Linked DNA regions of Homo sapiens: region 1 is linked to region 2. The links are contacts of gene promoters, found by promoter capture Hi-C in human tissues and cell types (Jung and others, 2019). All regions are on one chromosome and are shown on one strand. Each heading gives the region's core, a stretch centred on a gene start or on the middle of the fragment in contact. The rest is flanking DNA. Distances are from core to core; before and after follow the strand shown.

The links. Contacts are between HindIII fragments. The study calls those that stand out against the background at their distance.
Region 1: a fragment that was not itself captured here is called in contact with the fragment with the promoter of ARSF in region 2 in 1 of the 25 tissues and cell types used here (pancreas).

What each region holds. Positions count from the first base shown.
Region 1 is chrX:2,908,113-2,915,483 of GRCh38, reverse strand. It overlaps ARSD (arylsulfatase D), which reads left to right. Exons shown (of 10, transcript NM_001669.4): 7 at 4,691-4,825; 8 at 5,505-5,667; 9 at 6,642-6,763. Among named protein-coding and RNA genes, the nearest start is that of ARSD-AS1, 6.9 kb to the right of the region's middle. The HindIII fragment of the contact is 3,631 bases long and covers 466-4,096 here.
Region 2 is chrX:3,040,208-3,046,640 of GRCh38, reverse strand. It overlaps ARSF (arylsulfatase F), which reads right to left and starts at 5,170. Exons shown (of 11, transcript NM_001201539.2): 1 at 4,978-5,170. The HindIII fragment of the contact is 6,572 bases long and covers 119-6,433 here.

The DNA.
Region 1 (7,371 bases), core at 1,032-3,531, 130 kb after region 2:
CATCTGAATATGAACCAACTTGCAATAAAGAATAAGGGCGGTGGCTCACGCCTGTAATCCCAGCACTTTGGGAGGCCAAGGCGGGCGGATCACCTGAGGTCAGGAGTTTGAGACCAGCCTGGGCAACATGGTGAAACCCTGTCTCTACTAAAAATACAAAAACTAACCCGGTGTGGTGGTGCACACCTGTAGTCCCAGCTACTCGGGAGGTTAAGGTACAAGAATCGCTTTAACACGGGAGGCAGAGGTTGCAGTGAGTTGAGATCGCACCACTGTGCTCCAGCCTGGGTGAAAGATCAAGACTCCGTCTCAAAAAAAAAGAAAAAGAATAAGAGTTACTCTTAGCACTTTGGGAGGCCCAGATGGACAGATCACTTGAGGTCAGGAATTCAAAACCAGCTTGCACAACATAGTGAGACCCCATCTCTACAAAAATAAATGCTTAGCCAGGCATAATGGTACACGCCTGTAGTCCCAGGTACTCGGGAGGCTGAGGCAGGAGGATCGCTTGAGCCTGGGAAGTCAAGGCTGCAGTGAACTGAGATTGCACTGCTGTACTCCAGGCTGGGCAACAGAGTGAGACCCTGTCTCTTTAATAATAATAATAGTACAAAGAATGGGGGCAGAACACACTCCCATATCATTTATTTGCTTCTTCAGTATTCCCAATTACTTGGTCTAATTCTGCACAAAATCAACCTTCTACACAGCCAGTGACTTCATGTCATCATCAGAAGTTACCGAAAGTGAAGCGATAAAGTTAATGTTCAGGACAATGCAGACACGCTGTCTTCCTTCTATGGCCTTCAAGAAACCCTGGAGAGGACCAGTGAGGCTGCAGATTCTTAAAAGAGCATAGACATTAAAATTCTTGCAGAATCTGAATGTGTCTCCTGAGACAAGCATCGTGATAGAGTTCACAGTCTTAAAAGTCTGCATTTTCAGGTGGGGCAAGGTGGCTCATGCCTTTAATCCCAGCATTTTGGGAGGCTAAGGCAGGGAGATGGCTTGAGACCAGGAGTTCAAGACCAGCCTGGGCAACATAGTGAGACGCCCCCCCCCCCCATCTCTACAAAAAATTTAAAAAATTAGCCATGGTGGTGTGCACCTGTGGTCCCAGCTACTCCAGAGGCTGAGGTGGGAAGATCATTTGAGCCCAGGAGGCTGAGGCTGCAATGAGCTATAATTATTGCACCACTGAACTCCAGCCTGGGCCACATAGCAAGACCCTGTCTCCAAAAAAAAAAAGAAATAAAAGACGAAGAATAGGGAGAAAAACTTCTCTCATATCATTTATTTGGTCCTTCAGTATTTCTGATTACTTAGTCTAATTTTGCACAAAATCAACTGTATTAGTCCATTCTTGCAAAGAAATACCTGAGACTGGGTAATTTATAAAGAAAAGAGGTTGGATTGGCTCACGGTTCTGCAGGCTGCACAGGAAGCATGGCAGCATCTGCTTCTGGGGAGACCTCGGGGAGCTTTTGCTCATGGTGGAAGGCGAAGGGGGAGCAGGCGTCTTGTGGCAGGAGAAGGACCAAGAGAGGAGAGGAAGAGCCGCACACTTTTAAACAACCAGATCTCGTGAGAAGCTACTCCCTCCGCAGCACCAAGCGGGGGATGGTGCTCAACCATTCATGAGAACTCTGTCCCCATCATTCAGTCACCTCCCCCCAGGCCCCACCGCCGATTCTGAGGATGACAATTCCACATGAGATTTGGGCGGGGACACACATCCAAACTATATTGTCAACCTTCTACACAGCCAATGACTTAACAGCCTCATTAGAAGTTACAGAAACTAAAGCAATAAAGTTCGGACAATGCAGAGAGGTCACCTTCCTTCTATGGCCTTGAAGAAACCCTGGAGAGGACCAACGAGGCTGCAGATTCTTAAGAGAGTGTAGATATTAAAATCCTTGCAGAATCTGAACATATCTCCCGAGACAAGCATAGTGATAGGGCGGGATTGGTTCACAGTGTAAACCAAAAATAAATTCGAAGGCCCCCCACAACCATCTGAATGGATTCCCTCCTTTGCCAGGGCACCCTAAAATTTAACCTGAGAGACTGGTTCATGCCATAACGGGAAGAGGGGGTTGGGCTTGCCTCATTCTACCCCCCGCAGCATGAACATCCACACAGACCTTAACTCTGATAAGAAACATTTACAATCTATTTTCTCTGAAGCCTGCCACCTAGAGGCTTCATCTGCATGATAAAAGCTTGGTCTCCACAACTCCTTATCATAACCCAGACATTCCTTTCTATTGATAACTCTTTCAATCAGTTACCAATGAGAATATGTTTAAATTCCCCACTTCCAGTTGTTCCACCTTTCCAGCTCAACCAATGTACATCTTACATGTAGCGATGGATGTCTCATGTCTCCCTAAAGTATACAAAACCAAGCTTTGCCCCAGCCACGGTGGGCACATGTCATCAGGGCCTCCTGAGGCTGTGTCATTCTTAACCTTGGCAAAATAAACTTTCTAAATGGATTGAGACCCGCCTCAGATACTTTTCAGTTTACAGCAGGCTTCAAAGTCTGCATTTTCAGAGCTACAGATGACCTTGTGGTTTATATCATTTTGACTTTCAGTGCTTTCAATGACCAGTGGCCTCCAGGGATAAAGCAACTGCTTGGTTTGCAGGGCGTCCTCTGCGCTGCTGAGCCATCAGCCTCCAATACGCCAATGCCCATAGATGCTAGTTACAGCCCTGCTTCCTCCTACATAGGGTTCTGTCATCACTGAGTCTCACCATTTCCCTCTCCCCAGTGTCTTTATTATGTGACACACACACACGGCACTATGTTTAAAAAAGCGTGCTCACTGGCAACCTCTTGGCGTTGTGTGTTCATTCTGTGTTTTGTATTGGTGGTATCTTGGGGTCGACCGAAAGAGTCAAACTCCGTAAAATATTTGGAGAGATTTATTCTGAGCCAAATATGAGTGACAAGTGGCCTGTGACACAGCCCTCAGGAGGTCCTGAGAACATGTACTCAAGGTGGTCGGCATGCAGCTCAGCTTTATACATTTAGGGAGACATACGGCATCAATCAGCACGTGTAAGACGTACCTTGGTTCAGTGCAGAAAGGCAAGACCACTGAAAGGGGGGCTTCCAGGTCAAAGGCGGATTCACAGATTTTCTGATTGGCAGGTGGTTGAGTTATTATCTGAGAATCAATAGAAGGGAATGTCTGGGTTATGATAAGGGGTTGTGGAGGCCAAGGTTTCATAATGCCAAAGAAGCCTCCAGGTAGCAGGCTTCAGAGAGAATACATGGTAAATGTTTCTTATCAGACTTAAAGAGTCTGTTCTATCAGTCTTTTTTTTCTTTTTTAAACAGGGTCTCACTCTGTTGCCCAGGCTGGAGTGCATGGTGTGATCTTGACTCATTGCAGCCTTGACCTCCCAGGCTCAGGCAATCCTCCCACTTCGGCCTCCCGAGTAGCTAGGACTACATACAAGCATGTGCCACCATACCTGGCTAATTTTTGTATTTTTTGTAGAGACAGGGTTTCACCATGTTGCCCAGGCTGGTCTTGAACTCCTGAGCTCAATGGATCTTCCTGCCTCGGCCTCCCAAAGTGCTGGGATGACAGGCATGAGCCACTGTGCCTGGCCTTCTCTCAGTCATAGGTCTCTGTTTCAATGTGAATGCTGGTCAGTTGTGCCTGAATTCCAAAGGGAGGAGGGTATCATGACGCATGTCCACCACTCCCCCCGCCCCCACTACTTTCCAACATGGCCTGACCTTGTTTTTGTTTTTTGTTTCTTTTGGTTTTTTTTTTCTTTTTTTTTTTTTTTTGAGATGGAGTCTCACCCTGTCGCCCAGGCTGGAGTGCAGTGGTGCGATCTCGGCTCACTGCAAGCTCCGCCTCCTGGGTTCACACCATTCTCCTGCCTCAGCCTCCCAAGTAGCTGGGACTACAGTCTCCCGCCACCATGCCTGGCTAATTTTTTGTGTTTTTAGTAGAGACGGGGCTTCACGGTGTTAGCCAGGATGGTCTCAATCTCCTGACCTCGTAATCCACCCGCCTCAGCCTCCGAAAGTGCTGGGATTACAGGCGTGAGCCACCACACCTGGCCCTCTTTTGGGTTTTTTTTGAAACAGTCTCACTCTGTCACCCTCGCTGGAGTGCAGTAGTGTAATCTCACCTCACTGCAACCTCTGCCTCCTGGGTTCAAGCGATTCTCCTGCCTCAGCCTCCCAAGTAGCTGGGATTACAGGCGTGCACCCCCCACACCTGCCTAATTTTTGTGTTTTTGGTAGAGATGAGGTTTCACCATAATGGCCAGGCTGGTCTTGAACTCCTGGCCTCAGGTGATCCACCCACCTCAGGCTCCCAAAGTGCTGAGATTACAGGTGTGAGCCGCCAGGCCCGGCCTGACCTAGTTTTTCAGGTTAACTTTGGAATGGCCTTGGCTGAAGGGAGAGTCCATCAGTCGGTTGGGGGGCTTCGAATTTTATTGTTGGTTTGCATTGTAAACAGTCCTGTGGTATCACAGTGATTAGCTATGTCTTACACTTTGGGATCACATTGTAACCACGGCCTCCGAGTAAGTGTGGTCTCTTCTTATGACTTCCTGGCAAGAGGTGTCTCCTGCAGAAAGGAAGAAGCGCATTGAACTAGTGGATGCTGCTTTGTTTTCTTGGTCCTGAAACTTTCCATTTTCTGTAAAGGTAAGGTTCTTAATGCCATCGAAGACAATGGTTTAAAGAACTCAACATTCACGTATTTCACCTCTGACCATGGAGGACATTTAGAGGCAAGAGATGGACACAGCCAGTTAGGGGGATGGAACGGAATTTACAAAGGTGAGTTGTGGACATCGGGGACACATATGCATTCGACCAAATATCTGCCACCACTGAGGGTCCCAGAACAAGTTGAACTGAAAATGAGTTTGCTCATTTCAAAAAGAATGCATTGAGCACCTACTGTAGTACAAGTTCTACCTAGATGAGCAGGACAGGCAGATAAAAAGTCACATCCCCTTCCTTTAAAGGGTTTACATTTTAGTAGAATACAGAGAGGTATAAATAAATAATTCAGATAAAATTAAAATTTATTTTATTATAGTCTTAATTTTTAAATATTTAATAAATTTATTACTATTTTAATATTTTAAATGCATCAATTAATATTGATGCATAATAATACATATTTTAAAAATTATTGATAGTTAACAAACATTTTTAAATTATTAAATTTAATGAATATTTTAATACATTATTTTATTCTAAATAAAGGTAGCATAGATCGACTAGAACAGTTGAATCAGCCACAGCGACCCACCGATATTCAAGAGGCCAGGGAGTAGCATGATTCTGGAAATATTGCTGTGGCTGTTTTTGGGAAGCTGAGGCTGCCCCAGTGTGCATGTGTGCATCCGGGTGGCTGTGCGTATTCACATACCTATGCACAAATACATCCAGATGTGTGTACAGACTGGGCAGTTTCCGGCAAAATCCTAACGATGTCTTCTACTTACAGGTGGGAAGGGCATGGGAGGATGGGAAGGTGGGATCCGCGTGCCCGGGATCTTCCACTGGCCGGGGGTGCTCCCGGCCGGCCGAGTGATTGGAGAGCCCACGAGCCTGATGGACGTGTTCCCTACTGTGGTCCAGCTGGTGGGTGGCGAGGTGCCCCAGGACAGGTACGTGGAGATAAGGCTGCCTGTTCCCTGATTTTTTTTAATTGTTTTTAGTTTTTTTTTTTTATTTCAATAGGATTTTGGGGAACAGGTGGTATTTGGTTACATAAATAAGCTTTTTTTTTTTTTTTTTTTTGAGACAGAGTCTCACACTCTTGCCCAGGCTGGAGTGCAATGGCATGATCTCGGCTCACTGCAGCCTCCGCCTCCTGGGTTCAAGCAATTCTCCTGTCTCAGCCTCCCGAGTAGCTGGGATTACAGGCATGCGCCACCATCTCCTTTACCCATGTGGCCATGTGTCTTGGGGTCTGTTATGATTAAAAAGTAAGGACAGGTCGGATGCAATGGCTCATGCCGATAATCCTAGCACTTTGGGAGGCTAGATGGGCGGATCCCCTTAGGTCAGGAATTCGAGACCAGCCTGGCCAACGTGGTGAAACCCCATCTCTACAAAAAATACAAAAATTGGCCGAGTGTGGTGGCTTGTGCCTGTAGTCCCAGCTACTCAGGGGGCTGAGGCATGAGAATCACTTGACCAGGAGGCAGAGGTTGCAATGAGCTGAGATTGTGCCACTGCACTGCAGCCTGGGTGACAGAGCAAGACTCTGCCTCATAAAAAAAAAAAAGTAAGAAAAGCCAACCTAGGAATGTGGGCTGTCCAGCTGGAATTTGAAGGCTTTGTGTTGACCTCCAAGGTGACAGTGCTGTGTGTTGGGGTGTGTGTGTGTGTGTGTGTGTGCACTCTGCTTATGCAGTGCTGCATAACAAATGACCCCAACACTTAGAGACACTGTGTCTTGAAATAACCACATGTATCCTGCTCAGCAACCTGTAATCTGAACAGCGACTGGAGAGACAGCTCATCTCTGCTCCATTTGCTGGGGAGCCTTGCATTCTGGGAGATGTGTTCCCAGGTGCAAAAGGCTGCCTGGGAACCCGTGGTCTGACTCTGCTCTGTGTTCTCTTCATGAAATCAGGGTGATTGATGGCCACAGCCTGGTACCCTTGCTGCAGGGAGCTGAGGCACGCTCGGCACATGAGTTCCTGTTTCATTACTGTGGGCAGCATCTTCACGCAGCACGCTGGCACCAGAAGGACAGTGAGTACCTGCTGCCCACAGCCAGGGTTGTCCAGAGAAACAGCCAATAGGATGTGTGGATATGTGGATGGATGGATGGATGGATGGATGAATGGATGGATGGATGGATGGGTGGATGGACAGATAGCTATAGAAATAGAGATAGATAAACCGATGAGTAGATTATAGATAGATGATGGGGGGGGGAGAGAGAGAGAGAGAGAGATGATAGAGACATAATGGATAGATGATGGATAGATAGATAGATGAGATGGATGATGGATAGATAAGATAGATAATGGATAGATAAGATAGATGATGGATGGATAGATGATAGATAATGGATAGATGATGGATAGATATTTAAGATACATGATGGATGGATAAATATATAGATATGTAGGATAGATGATAGATAAGATACATGATTGATGGATAGATAAGATAGATGATAGATATATAAGATAGATGATGGATAGATAAGATAGATGATAGATAGATAGATAGATAAAAAGTAGAATCAGTTCATGGATGGATGAATAGATGGATGGACAGATAGATGGATGAAAGGTAGATAAACAGAGATAGATGATAGGTAGGTAGATAGATGATCGATAGATAAATAGATA
Region 2 (6,433 bases), core at 3,921-6,420:
TACAGAGGCAGTAAGCAAGGGATTGAATAGTTCACTTTTTCCTTATTAATTTGCATTTGCTATATATCCAGTGAACGAAATTCCCTGGGACTATGAGTAGGATCCATCTCTAAATTCCTCTGGTGGCTTTGACCTTTAGTGACTGAAGACAAGCCAGCTGCATCTCCTTACTGATAGAGGAACTAGAAAGAAATTATTCAGGCAGATAGTGAGGGTAAAAGAGTCCTTGGCAGAATTTCCCTTTTTAAAAAGGAGCCCCCAAATCATTTCTTTTTAACAAAGAGCAGCCTGGAAAATAGAGCTGCAGGCATAGATAATAAGCAAGCTGGAAGCTTGAATGGGTAAATGCTGGCAGCTGTGCCAATGGGAAAGGGCTACCTGGAAGCCAGGTATGTTCAACATGGAGGCTCCGTCTTCCCTTTTCTTTGTCACCACGTGTACAGTAAAAAACCAGAGGCCAGGCGCAGTGGCTCACGCCTGTAATCTCAGCACTCTGGGAGGCCGAGGCGGGCGGATCATCTGAGGTTAGGAGTTCGAGACCAGCCTGGCCAACATGGTGAAACCCCGTCTCTACTTAAAAAAATACAAAAATTAGCCAGGCGTGGTGGCACATGCCTGTAATCCCAGCTACTCAGGAGGCTGAGGCAGGAGAATTGCTTGAACTCGGGAGGCAGAGGTTGCATTAGGCCAAGATCACGCCACTGCACCCCAGCCTGGGCAAAATGAGTGAAACTCCGTCTCAAAAAACAAAACAAAACAAAACAAACAAAAAAAACAGGCGACATGGCACTAGCCAGGTAAAGAGTCCATCTGCATAATAAAAGATTAGGCACCGAGGTGGGCAGATCACCTGAGGTCAGGAGTTTGAGACCAGCCTGACCAACATGGAGAAACCCCATCTGTACTAAAAGTACGAAATCAGCCAGGTGTGGTGGCAGGCACCTGTAATCCCAGCTACTCAGGAGGCTGAGGCAGGAGAATCACTTGAACCCGGGAGGTGGAGGTTGCAGTGAGCCGAGATGGCGCCATTGCACTCCAGCCTGGGCAACAAGAGCAAAATTCTATCTCAAAAAAAAAAAAAAAAAAGATTAGCCCAGCTTTTCATGCCCTATGCAAATGACACATCTAGTCCTAACCAGCTTTACATGCCCTATGAAAATGGTACACCTGGTCCAACCAATCTTTTGCGTCCTATGTAAATCATACACTGCCTCCTCAAGCTCATCTATAAAACTTGCTGCATTTCAGCAAAGAAGCAGCAACCCACTTCTCCAGGACCCCGCTCTGCTGCAGAGAGCTCTTCTCTTTCTTTTGCCTACTAAACTTCTGCTCTCAACCTCATTCTGTGTGTCCACGTCCTCGATTTCTGTGGCCATGAGACAATGAATCTCGGGTATTTACCCCAGAAAATGATGCCACTTCATTACCATGTGTGACCACGTGGCCACCCAAAAGTCAAAGGTTTCTCATTCCCCACCTCTTTATTTTTCTCTTTCTCCAATGAGTTTTATCTACATAATTTTCCATTTATTTTAAAGTGACCTTTAAATAGCCTCTAAACATTACATTTTCTTTGGCAAAAACCACATCTTTGTGTTTTTATAAACCTCACCAAAAATACATCTTACTCTCCTACTATTCCAACTCCCAGTAACCCTAATTTCCAGTGCAAAACCTAGGATTGCCTAATTTAATCTAACATTGATACAGGATGGCTGGGCTCCCGGCTAAACTACAACCTCAAGTCTGGAAGCTCGGCCCTAGTGAAAGCAGCTGACCTCGTTTCTCTGCCCAGATGATTGCCTTTTTGGCCTGCCCTGCCCCCTATCCTGTGCCCATAAGGACCAGACCAGCTGGCAGGAAGAAAAACGAAAAAGAAAAAGAAAAAAGCAACACAAGCAGCTGACCGGCAGGGATACAAGCTACTGAGTGGCGAGCAGAGAAGTAACTGAGCATTGGAGACTACAGATAAACATGACTAACTTCAGACGGTGTGGTTTTGGAGGGGAGCCCAGCCAGAGAAGGCTAGGCTTCAGAGAAACATCACCTTCTTCACACACCATCCCCTTTCCAGCTCCTCTTCCACCAAGAGCCACTTCCACTGCTCAATAAAGTCCTCCACATTCATCATCTTTCAGTTTGTGTGACCTGATGATTCTTGGACACCAAACAAGAAGTCGGTGTCCAAAAGGACAGATGCAGAAGGCTGTCACCTTGACCCTTCACTGAGCTGTTAACACATAGCTGTCCACAAACTGCAGGCTGAGTAACATGAGCCACTCCAGTTCCTGCCCACGAAGGGGGTCAAGGTCAGGGGAACAGTCCCATCTAACGTGACTCTAAGATTTTAAACCACTGGACAGGATTTTGAAATTAAATTTACCAAATTAGTCTTACCAAAGATTACTAAAGGAATGTCAATTAAAAGCATCTGAGCTAGCTTTTGGTTGTCTGATAAGCACTTACTTTTCTTTAAGCCATTTGATTAGAGCTCTTTCATATAATTTGGTACTGAAATATTACTTCCTCATGACAGATAGAAACTTACAGACAAGGCCAGGCATGGTGCCACACGCCTGTAATCCTAGCACTTTAGGAGGCCAAGACGGGTGGATCGCTTGAGCTCAGGACTGAGACCAGCCTGGCCAACATGGCAAAACCCCATCTCTACATAAAAAATACAAAAAATTAGCTGGGCGAGATAGTATGCACCTGTGGTTCCAGCTACATGGATGGCTGAGGTGAGGCAGGAGGATCCCTTGAGCCCAGTGCTCAAGGGAACAGTGAACCAAGATCACACCACTGCGCTCCAGCCTGGGTGACAGAGTGAGACCCTGTCTCCAAAATAAACAAATCAATCAAACAAACAGACAATAAATAAACTTATAGACAGACACACAGATAGAGGCACATCCTATAACATTTTTCACTTGCCTGTTTTCAAAAATTCTCTCTCTTCCTTTAGACTATTAATTTTTAAAAAATTACGGGAGCCAGCAAAAGTTGAAGGAGAGAGTTACCATCCCAGGCCTTTTCAAAAGAGGGAAAGCTCTGAGGCAAGCAGGATGCAGCAGAAGTGGAACCCCTAGGATGTCCATCTGAAGAATTTCAAGAAGAGATTATGGAATTCAAAAATAAAAAACTTCTTGCAATTTCACTGAGTACATCAGTATTTTAAGAAAATCTTGTTCTAACCAATGATCTCCTTTTGCATTACTGTATTTTTATTATTGAAGTCCAATACCTAGAATGATTATAATTTCCTTTTAGTTATAGCAAACTTAATTACATAAAAATTTTTTTGAATTCCTTTTTTACAGACTGTATTATGACTTGCACAGACCATATACAACCTGCTTGGATTTTCTGTTCTGTCCTAAACATCTCTCTTAAACAACAAGATTCTTTCTCATACAAAATTATTTTTCTTTTAACATTTCTTACCAAAAATACCTCCTTGTAACTTTCTTCTTCTTTTTTTTTGAGATGGAGTAGTCTCGCTCTGTCACCCAGCCTGGAGTGCAGTGGCACGATCTTGGCTCACTGCAACCTCTGCCTCCCGGGTGCAAGCAATTCTCCTACCTCAGCCTCCTGAGTAGCTGGGATTACAGGCACATGCCACCATGCCTGACTAATTTTTATATTTTTAGTAGAGGTGGGGTTTCACTGTGTTGGTCAGGCTGGTCTCAAACTCCTGACCTCATGATCCGCCTGCCTCAGCCTCCCAAAGTGCTGGGATTACAGGTGTGACCCAATGCACGCAGCCTAACTTTCTTTACATCTCTTGTTTCTTGGTTCCTTTTACCATATTTCATAAATAACCCTTAAATAAACCTAGAATCTGGCCGGGTGCGGTGGCTTGCACCTGTTATCCCAGCACTTTGGGAGGCTTAGGTGGGTGGATCACCTGAGGTTAGGAGTTCGAGACCAGCCTGGCCAACATGGCAAGACCCCTATCTCTACTAAAATTACAAAAATTAGCCAGGCATGGTGGTGGGCACCTGTAATCCCAGCTACAAGGGAGGCTGAGGCAGGAGAATCGCTTGAACCTGGGAGGCAGAGGTTGCAGTGAGCTGAGACTGCACCATTGCACTCCAGCCTGGGAGACAGAGCGAGGCTCCATCTCAAAAAATATAAATAAATAAACATGGAATTAGATGAAAATAACTTAGCTTTGAATAAGAACATATTTTTTAGAAAAGTTTTTCTATAATACAATTTATTTAAATTGAAAATGGCCCAGACATTTAGTGAATATCTATTATTTAACTTTAGATTCTAAATTATATTTATTTACAGGCATTTGTTTCATTACATTTACCTAATTAATTTTATAAAATCTTTTACCTAGATTATCTGTGAAAACTCTGATAGTCATCATTTAAAGTTATTTCCCTGTTAACCATTTTTATAGTCTATGAATTTTCTGTGTTTGCCTAAGCAAAAATTTTAAATATATATATATTTTACTGATAACTTGGGATTTAGCTCTTTTTACTACACTAATAACATTAAACGTCTTATTTCTCAAAAAGTACAGAAACAAAGATTATTGTGTTTCATGCTGGGTTGCTGGGTTTATAGTTTTGTAAGCCTTATGCCAAATTTTGACACCTTATAATATCTGTCAGAGGTAAATATGAAACTGCTTGATCAGTAAATGCAAACAAACATGTATGCTGACAATTTTTAAGATATTTCTAATACTATCGTACCAATAATTTTAAAGCCAGCTTATTTATTAAAGATTTATGTAAGTCACGTGAACTTGAAAAGCGTTTTGGCTTATTATTTAATTTATGAGTACTCTTTGACTTGAAGCCAATTTGACACTTCAGGGCTAAAGCACGTAAAAAATGTATATGTGCACACATATGTGCATGTACATAAACACATCTAAATACGCATGCACACTCACACAAAGATCCTATAGCTTTTACTTCAGAACTCTAGCAAGAGATATCAACACAAACTCACCAGTTTATACAAACAAAAAGGTTGGATCCCAACAGTGACTTCTATCTCAACAGCAGTGGAAAAGTAACAGAAGGGCCAGGAGTGGTGGTTCACGCCTGTAATCCCAGCACTTTGGGAGGCCGAGGCCGGCGGATCACTTGAGGTCGGGAGTTCGAGACCAGCCTGGTCAACATGGTGAGAGCCTGTCTCCACTAAAAATACAAAAATTACGTAGACGTGGTGGCGCACGTCTGTAATCCCAGCTACTGGGGAGGCTGAGGCAGGAGAATCGCTTGAACCTGGAAGGCAGAGGCTGCAGTAGATAGCGCCATTGCACTCCAGCCTGGGTGACAGAGCAAGACTCTGTCTCAAAAAAAAAAAAAAAGAAAAAGAAAAGAAAAGAAAAGAACAAAAAGTAAACAGAAGATTTAAAGTAGGCAGAAAAGAAAATAGCAAAATAGAGGACTTAGGAACTGATTGGTTGCAGGTTGACCTTTGGGCTGGAATTTTCTCTGGTGTAATGTGTGCAGCAGTTTAAAGTGTGAACAAGCACAGACATAATATGTAACAGGAAGCTTCTTGTTTGACCTGGCATGCCCTCAAGCTTTTCCCGCTTACACAAATACTTGCAAGTAGAGGAACCAGAGAACCAAAAGGGGTGCCCAAATGGGGGTCGCTCTCTCCGCCTTTCCTCATCCTTACATGCTATGTCTCCCACTTTTATTTTAAAATGAGGAACTAAACTGTGGCCTGGGTTTTAGTAGGGTGGATTGAAGTGTGCTGGCTGTGAGAGGGACTACACTGTGTGTCACCACTGAGTCTTTCTACCCTTTCACGTGTCTGAGTTTCTCTCTCCAGAGGTCTAGACCTCTGACAGGGCTCAACATAGCAAGTGATCAGCTCTTACACCTGTCTCCTGGATGAGCCTCTTAAAATTAATTTTGTTGTGTGGTTCCCTGTAGGGTCACTGCACATCATGGCAGGAGTCAATCCCCCAGAGACTCCCACTCAACCCCTACCACCCAGGGGTGGTTTTTGGCTAGGAGGAGCAAAACTCCCTTTCTTTTCCAAGCTGAGGAGGTCAGCCTCTCGTTTGGCAATTCAAAATTATGCCACAAAAGTGGCAGTTCAGTCTCTCACGCAAATGTACTCACAGGCCAATCGACATTAATTTGGGGGGAAAAGGGCAGTGGAGAAGACCATTTAGAATGCACCACCAAACCTAAAGTAGGATCCTATACAACAACTTCCTAGGAGAAAAATAAAAAGGAGGTAGAAAAACAGCTCAGAATGAACCAAGGACCATCAACCAAATGGAAGGTCCAGAGCTGCAGAGGACTCACCGGTTCCACTGGAGGAGAAACCTAAAGCCAGGGAGGGCTTCCAATGGCCCTGCGGGTAACTTAGCTCCGGGTTCGGGCAACTGCGTCAAGGATTCTGAGTCTTTTCTGAGGCCCCACGTGTAGGGCACCAATTA